3 separate regions of the Homo sapiens genome follow, and regions 1 and 3 are each linked to region 2. Evidence: promoter capture Hi-C in human tissues and cell types (Jung and others, 2019). All regions are on one chromosome and are shown on one strand. The core of a region is centred on a gene start or on the middle of the fragment in contact, and the rest is flanking DNA. Distances in the headings are between cores, read along the strand shown. Region 1 has its middle 24 kb from the start of NAF1. Region 2 holds the start of NPY5R (neuropeptide Y receptor Y5). Region 3 overlaps NAF1 (nuclear assembly factor 1 ribonucleoprotein).

Evidence for each region. Contacts are between HindIII fragments. The study calls those that stand out against the background at their distance.
Region 1: a contact is called between a fragment that was not itself captured here and the fragment with the promoter of NPY5R in region 2, in 1 of the 25 tissues and cell types used here (H1 embryonic stem cells).
Region 3: a fragment that was not itself captured here is called in contact with the fragment with the promoter of NPY5R in region 2 in 1 of the 25 tissues and cell types used here (dorsolateral prefrontal cortex).

The regions. Positions count from the first base shown.
Region 1 is chr4:163,189,259-163,192,725 of GRCh38, forward strand. No RefSeq gene overlaps it. Among named protein-coding and RNA genes, the nearest start is that of NAF1, 24 kb to the left of the region's middle. The HindIII fragment of the contact is 5,452 bases long and covers 1-3,467 here.
Region 2 is chr4:163,341,925-163,345,310 of GRCh38, forward strand. NPY5R (neuropeptide Y receptor Y5) reads left to right here and starts at 1,968. Exons shown (of 4, transcript NM_006174.4): 1 at 1,968-2,076. It also overlaps a transcript of NPY1R not described here. The HindIII fragment of the contact is 9,678 bases long and covers 1,113-3,386 here.
Region 3 is chr4:163,155,125-163,158,406 of GRCh38, forward strand. All of the region lies in intron 2 of NAF1 (nuclear assembly factor 1 ribonucleoprotein), which reads right to left. Among named protein-coding and RNA genes, the nearest start is that of NAF1, 10 kb to the right of the region's middle. The HindIII fragment of the contact is 3,581 bases long and covers 1-3,092 here.

The DNA of each region.
Region 1 (3,467 bases), core at 821-3,320, 150 kb before region 2:
TGTTACAGCTCTTAAAGCGGCGCGTCTGGAGTTGTTCGTTCCTCCCCGTGGGCTTGTGGTTTCGCTGGCTTCAGGAGTGAAGCTGCAGACTTTCGCGGTGAGTGTTACAGCTCATAAAAGCAGTGTGGTCCCAAAGAGTGAGCAGTAGCAAGATTTATTGCAAAGGGCGAAAGAACAAAGCTTCCGCACGGTGGAACGGAACCCGAGCGGGTTGCCAGTGCTGGCTGGGGCAGCCTGCTTTTATTCTCTTATCTGGCCCCAGGCACATCCTGCTGATTGGTAGAGCCGAGTGGTCTGTTTTAACAGGGCGCTGATTGGCGCGTTTACAATCCCTGAGCTAGACATAAAGGTTCTCCACGTCCCCACCAGACTCAGGAGCCCAGCTGGCTTCACCCAATGGATCTCGCACCCGGGCTGCAGGTGGTGCTGCCTGCCAGTCCCGGTGTCATGCGCCCACACTCCTCAGCCCTTGGGTGGTCGATGAGACTGGGCGCCCTGGAGCAGGGGGTGGCGCTCGTCGGGGAAGCTCGGGCGGCACAGGAGCCCATGGAGGGGGTGGGAGGCTCAGGCATGGCGGGCTGCAGGTCCCAAGCCCTGCCCCGCGGGAAGGCAGCTAAGGCCTGCTGAGAAATCGAGCGCAGCGTCGGTAGGCTGGCACTGCTGGGGTACCCAGTACACCCTCCGCAGCTGCTGGCCCGGGTGCTAAGCCCCTCATTGCCAGGGCCGGCGGGCTGCTCCGAGCGCGGGGCCCGCCAAGCCCACGCCCACCCAGAACTCCAGCTGGCCCGCAAGCGCGGCACGCAGCCCCGGTTCCCGCTGGCGCCTCTCCCTCCACACCTCCCTGCAAGCTGAGGGAGCCGGCTCTGGCCTTGGCCTGCCCAGAAAGGGGCTCCCACAGTGCAGCGGTGGGCTGAAGGGCTCCTCAAGTGCCGCCAAAGTGGGAGCCCAGGCAGAGGAGGCGCGGAGAGCCAGCGAGGGCTGTGAGGACTGCCATCACGCTGTCACCTCTCACCACAATGTATAGTTCTATTGCAAATAGTGGAGTGAGTATAACAATTCTTGCGAGAGTGGCGTGATAGATAATTTCCATTTAAAATTTTACTTGCCAAGATATAGTTTCCCTCTGGGGTCCTATGAAGTTATAAATGCAAGTGTATGAGTAATTAAAGTTTCCTTGCAAATATCTGTTAAAAAGAAGTTCTAATATTTGGTGGTGAATTTTGAGAGGGAAGGTAGAAACAACAAAAAGGATTTGGTGAGGTAAAGATGGGACTGAGTAAGGCGAGTAGCCCTCAGTTACTTATCTTTTATGATTTTCAGCTTAGTATCTTCTATTTCTTCACATTGATATTCAGGGTGTTCTCTGGGCTGTCGGGTTGCTCCCTCAGATTTTCAGGCTTTTACTTGAGTGTGATGTATTCAGAAGTTGATACCTGTAACTTTTATTGCCAAGTGGGAGAGAGCATTGAAAGAACAGTGTAGGGCCCTTCCCAGCTTGGGCTTAGGGAAGGAGAGCGAGGAAGAGAGAGTTTTTACTAAAACCAAATCTCCTGGGTTAAAAACAGGTGGTCCTATTTCTTGGTATTGGGCCTCTGCTAGTTGTGTTGATTCTTGTTGGAAATGAGCTAGAGAGGTTGCATGCTTAACTAATTTAGAAGTTTTCTGATCTAATAGGAAGTCATTTGTAATGAAAGGCCGTCCATACAGCATTTCGCAAGGACTCAGGCTTAACTTTCAAGGGGTATTTTTTTTTTCTGTAGTAAGGCCGTAGTAGTAAGGGAAGAAGAGTGACCCAAGGAGGTGAGTTTCCTAGAAGTTTTCTGAGGTGTATTTTGGTAATGTCATTTGTTTTCTGTACCTTCCCTGAGGACTGGGACCTCCAAGCACAATGGGGATGATACTATAAGCCTAGTGCCTTTGAGACTCCCTGGGTGACAGCTGCTTTGAATAAGGGGCCATTGTCACTTTGGAGATACTTAGGTAGACCAGAGCCAGGGGTTATTTCATTAACTAGCACTTTTATTACCTCACAGGCTTTTCTGTACAGCATTGAAATTCTTCTTTCCAGTTAGTGAAGAGAAATTCTTCTCTCCATGTCTTTGGCATGTGGGTGAAGTCCATTTGGTAGTCTTCCCTGGATAGCTTTCTATTCTTTGGGTTTGAGGAGGAAAGACCCGTTTGTTGAGGAAATTATTTTTAAGACAGACTTTTCAAGCATTAATAACCTATTTGGCTTTTTTTTTTTCTTTTTCTTTTTTTATCAAATAATCTCCTGAAAACAATCTCTGGGCACACTGGTAAGTTTTTTCCTTTTCCAGGTGAAAATTTTGGTGAAGGATTTTAAGGACTTTCCATTGTCTAGAGGCTGGCAAGTGGAGTTTGCCATTCTCTGACTGTAGCTGTCCTGAAGGCTAGAAAGTGTACCTCCAAGAAGTGGCCCACTCCATTTCTGCAGGGGATTACTGAGGCTTAATTGTTTTTATGGAGCCTTCCCAGGCTAGAGGGGCTTTAAGTGTGTTGAGGCCCTGAGGCTTTCTTGCTGCTGTCTTGGCTTCCTGATGAGCTAACTTGTTTCCTTCAGCTATTTCATGTGTTTCCTTTTGATGTTCCTTACAACGCATCACTGCTGCTTCTTGTGGAGGGAAAACTGAGGATAATAACCTGTTAACTTCCTGGTGATATTTTATAGTAGATCCACTAGTAGTAAGAAATATCTTTCATTTTAAATGGCAGCATGAGCATGGAGAACTAAGAAAGCATACTTGGAGTCAATGTAAATGTTGCCTACATTTCCCTTGCTTAATTCAAGTATTCTTGTAAAAGCTATTAGTTCAGCTAATTGAGTGCTTGTGTCTGGGGAGAGATGTAATTTAGGGTGACCACTGCTTATCCTGCGTTACGTGTCTCTTGCTTTACTGGCTGTTGGTTAGCTAAAGGCTCCCTCTAGAGGACAGTAATTCTGCCACATTATGTGGGGTATAAACAGTTAAGTTATTTTCCACGGTTAATTTGGAGGCTTCTTTGACTAGCAGAGCCACTGTGGCAGTGGCTTGCAGACATGTGTAAATAATAGGTCCTCCTAACTGCAACTAAGGGGTTGAGAAAGATACTGGATTAGAATTTTTCCTGAGATGCCCTTTATGGTCGTGCCTTGGGAAGAAGGGAGGCCTGGATTAGAGAGAAGAAAGATACTGGCTGCAGTCTTTAGAAGGAGGTCTATCTTCCTTCTTTCAATTCCTAGAATCATGTGAGGCTCTTGTGCTGTAATGGCAGTTTAAGCTGCTGGAGCCTGGGGTTTGAGCGCCAGGACCCATTAGTCCTGTTGGACCATTTGTGAGACTGCTTCTGAACCCAGTGACCTCTGTCTTTGGGGGCAGTTTGATCTCCAGTGGTCTCCACCACAGGCTGGACAGGGTTGAGATGGCTTCTTTTTGCTGTTTTGGAACTCCTTTTTAAAGTGCCCTGGC
Region 2 (3,386 bases), core at 718-3,217:
GTAGCATATTGCTTAAATTTGTAAATTTATAATTTCCTCAAAAAAACTCTTAATAACTTGTCCACTCCAAGTGTTCTTAATACTGTGTATTGTCACGTGTATTTAAAGAAGAAATGCCAACTCCTGTTTTTGAGACTTGCTTGTTTGTGGGTGCAGTGGGAAGGGAAAATAGCCAGGTTAATTAGAATCTTTGTATCAGTGGCAGGTAGCCTTTTATTTTCAATACTCTAATAACAGTGACTTCAACCTAAAGGTTCATATCATCAAAATAGAAAACAAATTTGTGGAAAATAAAAAATAAGATTTTTTAATACTTTTAATATGCAAAAGCCTGTAGCATAGACTAGTGTTTTGAAAGTCACAATGGGGTTCACTTGGAATTTGTTTTAAAGACAATGTGTATTTGAAGTGTACATGTTATGACTGTGCAAGAGATGGAAAGATAGAAATTTATGTGGCAATGTGTACTGCATTAACCGCAGAGACAGTGGAGTTAAGAAAGTCTAAAAAACAAGCCTTATTTTCTCAAGGTCATCCCTTCTTGACACTTTCATCCCCTACTCCTTACTGCAGAATCCCAGGTGCCTGCTCAGACGGCCTATTCTGTTAAGCTTTTGGGGAGAATATATTAATATTTCAGAAATAACACACAGAAGAATAAAACAGGAACTGTGTTTACTTGAGTTCTTTAAAAGCTCTTGGATGACTCTTTGACTGATGAAATAGCAATCTATACAGATCCCCTGAGTATTGAATGCTGAAATCCAGCAGAAAGGGGACACAAAAAATTTTCTTTGACCTCTTCTGTAACAGTGATGTCTGCCCCAGATGTTAGAATTACAAGTCACATTGCTCCCAAGGGGTACAGTTCTCTTCGGTTTATCCCACACGACTCTACTCAGCAGGAGATGCTGTCTGTTACATAATAGTTCTCAGTATTAAAGGGTACAATAACTACACCCTTTCTCATGGTAAAGCTATGTCCAAAGACACATGGACATCTACCCAATGTCTCTTTTCTCCCTTCTCTCCTTCTCTCTCTCTCTCTCTCTCACAGACACACACACACACACACACACACACACACACACACACGCGCGCGCGCCTAAAGTACCTGCCACCTAATGATTAGCTAAAAATAAAGCAAACCTGCGCAATACAGATTTGGAAACATTAGGGATGGAAATCATGTTGGGAAGGAACAGAAGGACAGGTTTTCTCTTCTTCTTTTGTGTGGGCTTTTTTCCCGTCTTTTTTTTTTTTTAACCTGTGACAATTCGTTTTTAGCCCTTCGTCTTCTCTTTGCTATTGAATATAGTCTTGAGCAGCGTTGATTTCATTTCAGCTTCACTCCCCTGCTCCTGCCACTTGCCCACACCCACAGCTGCCACTCCTTGGAGTGGGGAAACTTCCCTTCTATTCTGCTGGGCTCATTACCGCAGACGCTGTTGCCTCTCCTGAACATTGGGTCAGCCTCCCCACCTCCACTCTTCCTTACTTCAAAGAGGTGCAAAGGAAGAGCAGTGTTTTGTCTTTTTTCTTTCTTTCTTTCTATCACCACACCACCCCCCACCGTCCCCCACCCCAAACAAAGATAAAACCTGAGAGTCGAAGCTTGTTCTCAGGAATACTAAGAACTTAGGGGCACAGCCATCCTCACACCAGTCCAAGACTTCTCAGAGTTCACTACACAGGGTTGAGGGCTGGACCGGCAAAACTCGATTTGCCCATCAAGTTAACTTGGTCGGCCTGGGACCCGAGGCCAGGGTGAAGGGACGACATCCCGGGGCCCTGTGGCTTCTCCCTAGAGCGCCCAAACAGCGGCGTAGGTCTGGGACGCCCCCGGCCCCCGGCTTTGGAAGAGGCTGGCGCGGAGCAGGCGCCTTGGAGCAGGGTCTCGGGGGTCCCCGGAACAGTCACGTGTTCTCGAGACGCCGTTAAACCCCCGCCCCCTCTTCCCCACCGCCGCCTCCAGGTCCTGCTCCCGCTGCTGCCGCCACCGCCGGGGTGCAGGAGCGATCGCGCTGGGCCGCGCTCCCGGGAGCCCAGGGCCTGCAGCGGCCGGGGCGCCCCGAGGTACGGGCTCCCGCCCCTCCCTGCCAACCCCTTTCGCGCCGGGTAGGCCTGCACCGAGGGGCCGTGGCGGGTCCCCGCGCGGGCTGCGAGTCTGCGCAGGTCCCTGGGAGCCCGCACCCGTCTCTGGTGCCAGGGCGTTGTCGGGGGTCCCAAGAGAGCGGGGTGGGGAAGGTGAAGGGAGCGCGGCTGGAAAAATGGGGATTAGGGTGGCGGAACAGGCACTTGTCAGGAGTGAAGAGACAGCGGAGAGGGTACTGGGCTGAATTCTTTCGTGCCGAGCAGGTCCCTCCGGTTCCCAACTCACCCGGGTGGAGCAGGCGCGGGCCGAACCCGGGAGGAGAGTGTCGGGGATCCGCGAAGGAGCCTCCTGGGGATGGGGCGGGGGATGGACAAAGCGCTGCCCCCGGCTGGACGCGCTCTGGCTGCAGCCCGGCTGGCATCCGGAGCTGGGAACAGCAGCCCGCGGGGTGCCCGGGTCAGGGCTCAACCCTAGCGGGTCTCTGGCGAGGCCGGGGGCGCAGCCCGCGGGGCGCCACTCAGGCCGTCCAGCTGCCGCGCGGTCCAGCGCTGACCCGAGCCCGGGAGGCAGCTGCGCTCTAAGGTTTGCGCTCCTGTTTGCGAGGTGTCTTCATATAACAAATGCGAGCAATAACAAACATCCATAGAACTCGAATTCCAGAAACGGGAATTCTTTTTTCCAAGTTCACAGACCTTTAGTTAATCTTTTAAAGGAACTGAGGCGTTGTGTTGGACCAAAGCCAAAACGATTTTACCTTAGACCATGGAAAATAGCCTAAGGCTCTTTCAGCAGAATTTTGCAGTCCGAATGCAATTTTAGATTTCAGATTTCTCAAGGGAAGAGAAACTCTGCTGTTAGAATTTGGAAGGGAGGGTGGTGCATGCCTGTGTGTTTGTCAGCTGAGCAGAGCTGTATTTATCTTTCCAATTCAAATTGTGCCAGATTCTGGCTTTAAGAACAAACCATGGGAATATTTGAGAACATGGAATCATGCTGCTGTTCCACGATCACAGCAAAACAGACAATAGTTGATATTGTATCATTGCAGGAGGAAAAAGAATTACATATATTTTATTCTTTTGTGTGATTGTCATCCTTTGTGAAAAGAATGATGTGTATTTTCATAAAGCAAAAAATTATTCAAACAAAGAAACCTTATTTAAATGTACAAGTCAGACTTTTAATATCCTTTGAATTCCCTGCAGTTCCTCCTATTATTCTTGAGAACTATCTACTTTCTTAAAATACTTAAAATCTATTCAGAAGGTTTCATTTGTCTAGGTGTCAGATA
Region 3 (3,282 bases), core at 52-2,551, 190 kb before region 2:
ACCATCTCTTTTTCAACTAGCAAATTTAATCTACTGTATCACTACCAAGCCTAGTCATTCTTTATCAAACTATCCTGCTGCTTTGCTTTTTTCTAAACACATTGTTGTCCAATATTTCTGTATTTACTTAATGTCTATTTCTCTAACTACACAATAAATCCAACCATAACTAAGACCTTTTTAGTCCCAATCATAACGAGGACCCAGTCTTGCTCATTGCTATAGCACCCAAAAAGATGGCTAGCACATAGTAGGTATTTAGTATTAATATATATCTATTAGATGAACTAACCTACCTCTTCAGTCCAAGCTTAGCAAAAATCTCAAAAGTCAGTCTTTGTCTGAGCAGAAATCAGATAATGAAAATATAACCCGATATAGAATCCTCAAAGAATGAAAAAGACTTGAACCTAATCTTCTCAAAAATAAAATTTAAAAGCCAGGCTTCCAAGGAAGCTTAACTGCCTAGGATTGATGCATAGGTACCTCTGGGTTGCAGTAGCAAACATTATTACAATTATTAGATTAACACTTGGCTCCCTGAAAACACACCTGCTGCCCCTCCTAAGATAATGAATAAATCTCCTCAGATATAAAATCTCCTTTAAGGAAATAAAAATCAATCACTTTGCTTTTCCACGTTTCAGGGAAGGGTGTATATGTGTGACAGAGAAGAGAAACACAGACACACTCCAATAAAGGGGAAAATACGGCCAGAAAACATACTGTGGGACATTACCACTCTGGCAGTGCACAGAAGATACAAAGAATTAGATGTAAAAGGCATACTAATAAACTAAAAAAATTGAAGGTAGAGGTGATAGGAAAGGCCTGGGATAGAAAGACCTTCTTCATCACACATAAGCAACAACCAAGGGTACTAAAAATAAAAGACAAGGTGATTTAGTGCAGATTAGAAAGATTAAAGTATCTGCCTGGATACCAACAACCCCTGTTAAAAGAATGATGAGTAGATAGGAAAGACTTTTTGTTTTATTTACTCAATATTAGATACAAATTTAAATTTAATTAAAATTAAATAAAATTTAAAATTTGGTCTCAGAAAACATACTGTGGGACATTACCACTCTGGCAGTGCACAGAAGATACAAAGAATTAGATGTAAAAGGCATACTAATAAACTAAAAAAATTGAAGGTAGAGGTGATAGGAAAGGCCTGGGATAGAAAGACCTTCTTCATCACACATAAGCAACAACCAAGGGTACTAAAAATAAAAGACAAGGTGATTTAGTGCAGATTAGAAAGATTAAAGTATCTGCCTGGATACCAACAACCCCTGTTAAAAGAATGATGAGTAGATAGGAAAGACTTTTTGTTTTGTTTACTCAATATTAGATACAAATTTAAATTTAATTAAAATTAAATAAAATTTAAAATTTGGTCTTCAGTCACACTGGCCACATTTCAAGTAAGACAGCACAATATGGACATCCCCAACACTGTAGAAAGCTCTATTACACAGCACTGCTTTACATTCTCACACATCAAAAAAGCCCTCCATTACAAAACATATTCCCAGGCATTAACAATATCAATTTATTTCTGGCCATTAACACAGGTATAATTTTAAGACCACATTTTAACAGCATGCACCATATTACTAATGAAGTCTTAATGCTAACCTGAATACTCTACTTGGAAATGGAGATTTGTGATAAATCTATATTTTAATTTCATTGTTTCCCAAAATTAAAATGCAACTAAAAGCCTGTTCTGGATGTACATTATCTGCCATTAGAAATAACTATTTTATCATACAAATGAAATTTTTGTAAATGTTTACTAACAAAAAATCAAAGAACAGCAAAAAGTTTTTCTGGACTCATTTATTCAATACTTCTACACATAACAAAGAGTAGGAAAGGAAAGGAAGAAAACTATTTCATTCACATCATTAGCAAATGAAAAGCTTGCATGGAAATAAACATCCCCAAACACCACAGCATTTCGCAAATGAACTACTAAAATTCAACATACTAAAGAAGCTCCACCATTTATTTCCCACACACTACACAGTTCCAAGTCAAAAGCTTTATTGAGAGGCAATATAATCCAAGCAAATACAATTTTAAAAAGCTTACATTAGATGATACATTCATCCTTCACTTTGAGAAAATATGCTACATGATTATTCAGAAACCAAATAATGAGAAAGTCCAAACGACCAGATTCCAACGTTGCTATGCAGGTCTCCACAAATACTAAAAACACAGCAGTTTGGAATGTATCTATTACCAGTTCAGATCTGCTCCTCCCCACTAATATGACTTCAGACAAGTCTCTTTCTTTCTGGTTTCATTTTTCTTACCTACGAATAGTAAGGAAACTGAGCACAAGTTCTAAACAGTTACACAAATGGCTAACGACAATTTAAATGTCCAACTGCATGTAATCAAAAAGACAACACATTAATACAGAAATTATATACTAGATCCCAATAAAAAAATTACTGTGCTTCTGTGATAACAGATACTCGTAACGATGGCATTAAAGAAATGCAAGATCCTAACCACACTTCTGGAATATCCATGAAAGAGCAATTATTGTCTGTTTTGTAAGATTATTATATTTTAATTTTCTAACATCTGTATGGTCTACAAGGTTATTCAGTTAAGCAAAATATTCAAAAGAGTACCACATAACATTAAAAATCCATCCTATTAAAAATGAGGTTATAGACATACCAGTCAAAAAATGGGTGCCTAAAACTTTCAATGCAAAAATGGAAGAAGCTAATATGTCAAAAGTGGCCCTCTGAAAAGGTAACATTTATAATTTACAACACTGTTGACTTTTCAAGCATTTGTGAAGGCTTATTGAGCAAAAAAGAGTATCAGTAAATTGATGACTTTCTAAAGTAAAATTATATAAAGAACTTTCAGTAGGATTTTCACTCACAAATATGGAAAAAGGACAACAGAGGTTGGTGGGAGAAGGAATCAAACATTCCAAATGAAAACTAAACCTTTTTGGTGTCAGTTTGGGGAGAATTGAGAAAAGTGAGGAAGGTGGGATGAAATTATCTAACCACTTTTCTCATATTACCCAACACAGGACATGCACGTGGCAGCCAATTACCTGATGCTATTAGGTGAGCCTTCACTTTTCAGATATGGTTGGAAAGTAGGATCCAATCCCTGGAGTACTGAGAGCCATGACTGAATTTTTTTTTTCTCTATAGCTGGTAAAACATATTGGAAAAAGAATGGATTAGGTCTGTACACTTTGTGTCAACTATGACCATACTTAACATGTATTCT